Regions from separate parts of the Homo sapiens genome. Here regions 2 and 3 are each linked to region 1. Evidence: promoter capture Hi-C in 16 types of primary human blood cells and fetal thymus (Javierre and others, 2016). All regions are on one chromosome and are shown on one strand. Each heading gives the region's core, a stretch centred on a gene start or on the middle of the fragment in contact. The rest is flanking DNA. Distances are from core to core; before and after follow the strand shown.

Evidence for each region. Contacts are between HindIII fragments. The CHiCAGO score rates a contact against its expected background, and 5 or more counts as called.
Region 2: the fragment with the promoter of ABHD2 here is called in contact with the fragment with the promoter of MRPL46 in region 1 in 3 of 17 cell types (total B cells, naive CD8 T cells and total CD4 T cells); the score reaches 9.1 in total B cells.
Region 3: a contact is called between a fragment that was not itself captured here and the fragment with the promoter of MRPL46 in region 1, in 5 of 17 cell types (naive CD8 T cells, total B cells, total CD8 T cells and 2 more). The highest score is 7.3, in naive CD8 T cells.

What each region holds. Positions count from the first base shown.
Region 1 is chr15:88,466,026-88,468,731 of GRCh38, forward strand. MRPL46 (mitochondrial ribosomal protein L46) reads right to left here and starts at 1,363. Exons shown (of 4, transcript NM_022163.4): 1 at 1,125-1,363. The coding sequence starts at 1,352. MRPS11 (mitochondrial ribosomal protein S11) reads left to right here and starts at 1,683. Exons shown (of 6, transcript NM_022839.5): 1 at 1,683-1,757; 2 at 1,883-1,999. The coding sequence starts at 1,693. RefSeq lists enhancers at 1-897, 1,364-1,533. The HindIII fragment of the contact is 6,788 bases long and covers 1-2,706 here.
Region 2 is chr15:89,087,138-89,089,843 of GRCh38, forward strand. It overlaps ABHD2 (abhydrolase domain containing 2, acylglycerol lipase), which reads left to right and starts at 1,319. Exons shown (of 11, transcript NM_152924.5): 1 at 1,319-1,426. LOC124903573 reads right to left here. Exons shown (of 7, transcript XM_047433432.1): 5 at 1,698-1,795; 6 at 931-1,549; 7 at 424-804. The coding sequence ends at 590. RefSeq lists enhancers at 82-727, 1,338-1,517, 1,459-1,978. The HindIII fragment of the contact is 11,698 bases long and covers 1-2,706 here.
Region 3 is chr15:89,071,033-89,073,738 of GRCh38, forward strand. All of the region lies in intron 2 of CARMAL (coronary artery disease region linked MFGE8 regulatory lncRNA), which reads left to right. It also overlaps a transcript of ABHD2 not described here. Among named protein-coding and RNA genes, the nearest start is that of ABHD2, 16 kb to the right of the region's middle. The HindIII fragment of the contact is 876 bases long and covers 885-1,760 here.

The sequences.
Region 1 (2,706 bases), core at 113-2,612:
ACAGAGAGCTGGGTTGGGCAATGCCTGCTGACTCACCACAATCCAGTCATGTCAGTCTTTGATCAGAATCTCACTCACCAAGGACTTTCCTGTTCAGGGACTTTCAAGAGGTTGTTCCTTCTTCCTAGAATGTTTTTCCTCACATTCTTTCTTCTGGGAGAGTCCTACTCATCTTTCTGATTTCAATTTAAATATGACTGTCTCAGAGAGACATTTCTCATAAAGAGAAAAACCTGTATTCAGAAAGTCTGAGGCATTCCTTGACACTCACCATAAAATCAAAATGTGATGTATTTGTTAAACACTCTTATAGTGCCTTGTGTTTTCCTTAACAACACTTATCAGGGTCTGCATTTAGTTGTATGATTATTTGGTTACTGACTGATCCCCTCACTCAACTAGACTGAAGTACTCTGAGAACCAGAGCTACTTCTGCCTTATTCATTACAGCATCTCTATCACTTAACATACTCTCTGATGCATAGTATGGGCACAATGAACATCTGTAGGTTGAGTAACAAATATTTGTCAAGCGAGCGAGTAAATGAATAAATCAAGCAAAAAGCACAGAAGAGAAGTTTATAGTTCTCAACAGACCAAGACAAAAACATCTCGGATTCTGAGGAAACATATCACCCTTCAAACACTTTCTGTAGCGACCTCACACCTTCACAGCCACTACACTGTTTTTGCCCATGCTTCCTCACTTGCCCCTCACACAGATAGCCCCATGAGATAAAACAGAGTAGGCTTATCATAGGCATCTGACAGATGTGCCCACCGCCTCTTGTATTTCCTTCTTAACATTCATCACATCACAAAGACTTTCTCCCTCCAGACTTGTAAGCTCCTAGTGACACGGACCGATTCTTGTTCACCACAGGATCCCTATTGTGTTGCATGAACAAGAAGTAGAGTATCTCCAAAGAGTTGTCTAAGGTGACAATAAACACGGCCAATGAAAAGAAACCACTTTTTGTTGAACATCTATGTACCAAACCAAGTCAGTAAGGTAGGTACCATTCTGCGGATAAGTACCGTATACTTAAGTTCAGAGAGGTGAAATTACTCGCTCAAAGTCACGCAGAATAAACGTCACTCTGAACCCTGCATCTCAGTCCCACCTGCTGCAGTAGAGACGCCATCTCTTCCTGCAATGGGGTCAACGGCTTGGAGACTACAGGTGGCCGCTGCAGGCACAACGCGCCCAACAAGCGCCATGGGGATCCGTTGCTTGAGGGTGCGGCTGCAAGAGCCAGGCTGCGAGAGCTTAGACTGCCGGCCCAGAGCCTCTCGAACCGCCGCCAACCCCCCGCCACCCCTAACAGCGTCCGCCTTACGGGCGCCGCCATCTTTCGTTCTCCCACAATGCACCGCGGCTCCCAGGGATCCCTCAGCCGCGGGAGCGGCAAACTAGGGGAAAGCTCAGTCCCGGAACTGCTAGAACGAACCATTCGCATATGGAGGGGGTGACCCACCATCTCAGAACATTAAAAAAGGGAAAGAATCCCCTGGTGAACTACAGTGAAAGTCTTATTGAGCATTTAAATGGAAATAAAAATATTCAGTGGACCTAATGAAGAGTAGATGACTTTCCCTTCTGTCCCCTCCCCGACAGGCACTCATGGTACCGGCGCCGGCGCAGCTGTGACTGTCGCTGCAGACGGAAACTGACTGGGGTCAATTCAAGTCATGCAGGCTGTGAGAAACGCGGGGTCGCGGTTCCTGCGGTCCTGGACTTGGCCCCAGACAGCCGGGTAACAAATGACTGCCCCCTCGAGCCCACCGCCACCTCCAGGACTATGCTCCTACTCGTGTCCCTTGAGCCACCCGGGCCCCAGTGACCGTTAGGCCGTGGCCCTCACCGAGCTTTTCTTCCCAGCAGGGTCGTGGCCAGAACGCCGGCCGGGACCATCTGCACAGGCGCTCGACAGCTCCAAGACGCTGCGGCCAAGCAGAAAGTTGAACAGAACGCGGCTCCCAGCCACACCAAGTTCAGGTGAGCCCCACTTGGACCAGCCCTCTGGAGACCCGCAACCCCTGACTCTTGCCCGACACCCTCCAGAGTCAGAACCAGTGAATTTTCAGCTATGTCACTTGCTATCCGTGGGACCTTATGCAAATAAATCTGAGCCTCAGCCTTCTCATCTAAAAATGCGGATAATGCTGAGAGAGGTTGTGAGAATCAGATGAGCCGTGGTACAGAGTAAATGTTCAGTGAACATTCGTTAAATCAATGAGTGAATGTGAGATATCCATAACATGTATCAGCGTTCTTTTCTTCTGAGATGGAGATCTTTTCAGACCAATAACCTTCCCTGCCTCCAAAACAAAATGGGGAGGTAGAGGGCGCTAGCGATGGAACAGATGTTCCTGCACGTCTTACGGATGGTCCAGGGTGGGTTTTGTGCTCAGCCCTAGGAACTGGCATCTTGCTTCCCACCAGTGCCACCACCTCTGTATGCTGTATACACATCCACTTAACTTCACATCCATTTAACAAACATTTACCAAGAATCTACTATGAGTGAGACACCATGCTAGGTGCCGTGAATACAGATACAAAAGATCATTCCTCCCCACAAGTAGTTCACAGTCTTTGAGGGAAGACAAACATGCAAACATTTTAACCATAATCTGCTCAATAATATAATGGAGGTAAGCATTGGTTGGAAGTATGAAATCATAAGTGTCTAACTCCTGGCC
Region 2 (2,706 bases), core at 69-2,568, 620 kb after region 1:
TCAGGGGTCTCTGACAGATAGAGCTCATGCAATGATTTCTGGTCCGGTGCTGATCAGCCTTCAAAGGATGTTATTTGGTTACGCTCCATAAAACTTGAGCCAGCCCACTGTTCCTTGTCACAACCTGAAATATGTTGGGAAAAATTTACATGGTAACAAATGCCACTTCCCTTCTCTGACTAAATCGCTCCTCTCATTTCATCCCCTGCTCCCTCTCTCCGAGCCCTATGGGGCCTTGGTAGGGTGGCCTTGTCTGCCCTACAGGGGTTGCATTTCAAGTCGCTCAAGTGTTCTATTCTTGGTACACGACATGCCATTGCAAAAGCAGTTTCAGGCTCATAGAATTTTAGAAATGGGCCTAGTTTCCCAGCCGGATGAGGTGAGTGGGTGATGGGGGAAGAATCAGCCTTGATTGAATGCCTGTTGAGTGCCAGCCACTGTTGGCATTTATCAGAGTTTATTTAATCTTCTCATCAACTACTATTGTTACCCTCAGTTGCCAAGTGAAGGGAGCATGCGGGAAGGTTAAGTGACTTGCCCAAGCCCACACAACCGGTAGGAGCCCCAATTCCAGGCCCTAGTTCCAAGGCTACATTCTTCCAGGCGGCCTCCAACTGGGTTGGTTAAGGGTTGAAAGGACAGTGGGACAATAACTGAGGCCCGTATTGCCCAGAGCGTCCCCATCCCCCGTCCGGAGCTGGAAGAGGCCATAGACCGCTGCCTCCACATCTTTTCCTCTCCTTCGGGTTCGGTGACTCACGACCCTTCTTCCTCTCTCCCGGGATATGACCTCAAATTTCACCCCTGCGAAATTTGAGTACACGTGAGTCAGTCAGTCGGCCTGGACCCATAAGAGCCCCAGCTGAGCTACCAGCAGCTGAGCTACCAGCCGACCTCATTCCTCTGAGCCCAGTCGACAGCTGACCTTACCCAGCCCTCTAAAGCAGTTTGCGGTCACAATTACCCGTCTCTTCACCCCGCCCCCATCGACATCAAACACGACCCACCTTCTAGCCCTCCTCCCCTTTCCCCGCCCACTCCGGGCTGGCCTTATCCAGTAGCGTCTGGGTCCCTGGACTAAAGCCGTCAAATGTAACCAATTGCTGAGGAGCTCTCCCCTAAGAATCCCGCCTCCACTCTGAGGAACAGCTTCGCTGATCAATGGATCCCCTCCTAGACGCAATGAGCGCGCGGGGCAAGTGGAGAAGCGGCTGAACTGCCCAATGAACAAGCGGTTTCCGTGGTTAGGGGCGTGGCAGAAGCGGTCGTCAGGGGCGTGGCGGCAGTTACTTGGGCGGGGCCGGTAGCGGCGGGAGCTGCACTGGCCAGGGGTTCCGGCTGTATATCCATGAGCGCCGCTGGCAGCCGGGGAGCTGCAGGAACCAGACTGGGGGCGAGCTGAGCACCTGTAGTCAATCACACGCAGGTAAAGCCACGGCCGAGCGAGCTCCGCGGAGCGGGGATCGCACCCCGGACCCGTCGAACCGAATCTCCGAGCCCCGAGGTCCCCGGCGTAGCTCGGCCCATCACGCCGCAGCCTGAGGGGATCCTGGGGGGCCTGTCATCTGGCGCCGTGGGGGTCCCAGGGGCTGGCTTGCCCAGTGGTGGGGACAGCCCAGATCGCGGCGGGGGATACGCCTTCCTGAGGCCCTTTGTCCCCTTCTGCCCGAGGAACCGAGGTTGGGGACAACCCCGACCGCGGCCTTTCCCCCATTGGTGCTCACTCCTGGGTCTTCAGGGGCCTGGGGAGGGGTCTGCCGGTTCAGGCTCGGCGAAGAAGGTCCGGGATCCGCACCTGGAAGGAGAGGGCCGAGGGGCCTGATTACAGCCCGAGATACCCGAGAGGCCTCTGTGTTTCGGGGCTCCAGGGGCTCACGCAGGACCAGTGGGTTTAAGTTCTAGAAAGGCAGCTTTTGACCCACTTGGAAGCACATTTACCGAGTTCGGCCCCGCGACCGGCACTGTTCTAGGCCCTTCGTGAGCTTTTCCCACAGCTAGAGCTGTCCAGCAGCGCAGGAGGCTGCCTGCCAGGCCGGGCAGCTAGCGCCTCGACCTTGGCGATGTCCAAGCAGTGGCCTGATGACAGCCACCTGTGTCGGATGCTTAGGACTCCCAAGGGAGGACTGCATGACCCATCTGTAAGGGCCTTCTCTACCCACAAATGCACTCTAAGTGGCCTTTGATGCCTAGCTTGAGAAGAGTACTTCTGGGGGTCCATTAGGTTCCAAGTGGCTGTTGAATTCACCCATAATGAATTTTGAGGTTTCAGCTCTCAAGAGTGGGTGTTAGCAAAGAGACTGGATTATACAAAAAGATAGAGGTTTATTTAGCCACTGTGAAACTCCTTGTATTTGAACTACCATGGACCGCTCTCTTAATCTTCCCAATCTCTCTTTTTTGGTTGCTGGACCTCCAGTTTGTCAGTTTCACCTGCATTCCAGTAACCAAATCCAAAGGCATGTTCCAAGAACAGGCTCCACAGAGGGACCTGGAGAGACTGCAGGTTTGGCAGAGTCAACAAGATCTGTGCCCAGAGCTTTTCGAAGGCCGTTTCCTTACAGCCACATTAAGCAGAGTCCAAAAGAGAAATCCTTCACTACCCTCTGTCATTTGCCGGAATAGAGAGAACATAATAATCTAAAGGTCAGGAGGCAGAGAAAGAATCTTAACACACCTTGCTGTGTGTTTTAGGATGAATTAATCTTT
Region 3 (2,706 bases), core at 73-2,572, 600 kb after region 1:
CCATGGGTCTGTTTTGCTGAACCCTAATTAACCTCAGTAGGGAAGGCACCAGGTTCAAGAGGTCAAAGAAGAGACCCAAAGGTAGCAAATAAGACATGGGGTTTTGGCCGGGCACGGTGGCTCACACCTGTGATCCCAGCACTTTGGGAGGCCAAGGCGAGTGGATCACCTGAGGTCAGGAGTTCAAGACCAGCCTGGCCAACATGGTGAAACCCCATCTCTACTAAAAATATAAAAAATTAGCTGGGCATGGTGTCAAGCGCCTATAATCCCAGCTACTTGGGAGGCTGAGGCAGGAGAACCGCTTGAACCCGGGAGGTGGAGGTTGCAGTGAGCCAAGATTGTGCCTTTGCATTCCAGCCTGGGCAACAAGAGCAAAACCCCGTCTCAAAAGAAAAAAAAAGACATAGGGTTTTATTTGGGGCTTACATACAGGGGAGAGTCTCCAGCAGTGGCAGACTGGACAGGAAAAACGCAACCACTTGCAAACAGCATGCAGTTTATACAGTATTTTCACTTAAAACCCTCCCCTTAACAACCTTCACCTGGTAACCTGCATTTAACCTAAAACAAATGGCCTCCATCCCTTATACGGCCCACATTCCACCAGACAGGAAGGGAGTGGGGTGGAGCTCACATGTTCCTCATAGACAGGAAGGAATCTCTGGGTTGGCCACTCCCAGATTCCCTAGCTCAGAGCACACACTCAGGTGCGTCTGCCATACAGGGTCATTCTAAGGGTATGCTTAAGTTATTGCTATTGGGTATGTTTATCCTACAGGGTCCCTCAATACTGGACGATTATAATGCTCACTCCCTGATGACAAACTTGGTCATATGACTTTTTTGGCCAATGGAAGTGGTGCATGCCACTTTCGGGTAGAAGCTTTATTGTAGGGTGACCAACCTCAGTTACCTGAAGACGAAGACTATTCTGGTTTTAACACTAAAGTGTTGTGTCCCAGGAAACCCCCAGTCCTGGGCAAACTGGGATAGCTGGTCACCCAAGCTGTAAGAGTCATGTCACACTTTTATTTTTTTCCTTTTTGAGGAGAACAAAAATGTCTCCGTTAGAAACCTCCTATGAGCCTTGGTCACAGAATGAGGAGGAAGATAGCTGACCTCGATGGATATGTAATGCAAATAAGAAACAAATGTTTGGGCCAGGTGCAGTGGCTCATGCCTGTAATCCCAGAACTCTGGGAGACCGAGGCAGGTGCATCACTTGAGGTCAGGATTTTGAGACCAGCCTGACCAACATGGCGAAACCCTGTCTCTACTAAAAATACAAAAATTAGCCAGGCATGGTGGTGGGGGCCTGTAGTCCCAGCTACTCGGGAGTCTGAGGCACAAGAATCACTTGAACCCAGGAGGCAGAAGTTGCAGTTAGCTGAGATTGTGCCACTGCTCTCCAGCCTGGGTGACAGAGCAAGACTCGGTCTCAAAAGAGGAAAGGAGGGGAAGGAGAAGGGGAAGGGGAAGGATGAGCAGGAGGGGGAGGGGAAGGGGAAGGATGAGCAGGAGGGGGAGAGGAAGGGGAAGGGGAGGGAAGAAAAGGAGAGGGGAGGGGAGGGAAGGGAAAGTTAAGTTTGGGGTTTATTTAGCCACTGAGTTGAGAAGGTCATTTGTTACTGCAGGATAACTTAGCCTAAGCTGACTGAGGCAGCTCTACATGATATCTTTGGTATTCACCCATTCATCCATTTCTTATTGATGTCTGACAAGTTCTGCCTCTTCTTGCCCTCAATATGGTTATGCCAAGCTTCTCCTTGGAACTTCAGTACTTTTGTGAGTAGAGCTGCCAAGTAAAATACAAAATGCTCAGCTAAATTTGAAATTCAGATAAACAATACATAATTTTAGAAACTTTTCCTAAATTTAAATTGATCATATTAATAAAATTTAATTTTTAACTAGTAAGTTTGCTAAACCTGTTTTCACTACTTAAAATAATTTTATAAGTATAGCCCACACAATATTTGAGACATACTTATACTAAAAAAGTATTTGCTCTTTATCTGAAATTCAAATTTAACTAGGCATTCTGTATTTTCATTTGCTAAATCTAGCAAGCCTAGTTGTGAGGAAAGCACTTTTTGAGGGGCCTGGGACAAAGAATATACTCAGAAAATTCCCACTTCTACAGAGAGCAGCATTGTGGAGCAATGCTAAACTTAATCTATCATCAGATTTATGGGGAGCTTTAAAAAAGGGACCTAGGTGTGAGCTCAGACCTGATTAGCTAGAAACTTGTGTGGAATATCTGGGGAATCTGTAGTTTTTGAGACAGTCTTGCTCTGTTGCCCAGGCTGGAGTGCAGTGGTACGATCTTGGCTCACTGCAACTTCCGCCTCCTAGGTTCAAGCGATTCTCCTGCCTCAGCCTCCCAAGTAGCTAGGATTACAGGTGCCCACGACCATGCCTGGTAATTTTTTTGTATTTTTAGTAGAGACAGAATGTCACAATGTTGGCCAGGCTGGTCTCGAACTCCTGACCTCAGGTGATCCACCCTCCTCGGCCTCCCAAAGTGCTGGGATTACAGGGAATCTGTAGTTTTCTTTTAAAAAGTGTGTTAATTCTGATCATTGGCCAGGTTTGGAAACTAGTGGCCTCACGCACTACTTCTCAAACTCTAACCATGCGAAGCATCTCGGGATCTTGCCAAACACAAATTCTGATTCAGCAGGTCTTGGGGGACCTGAGGTT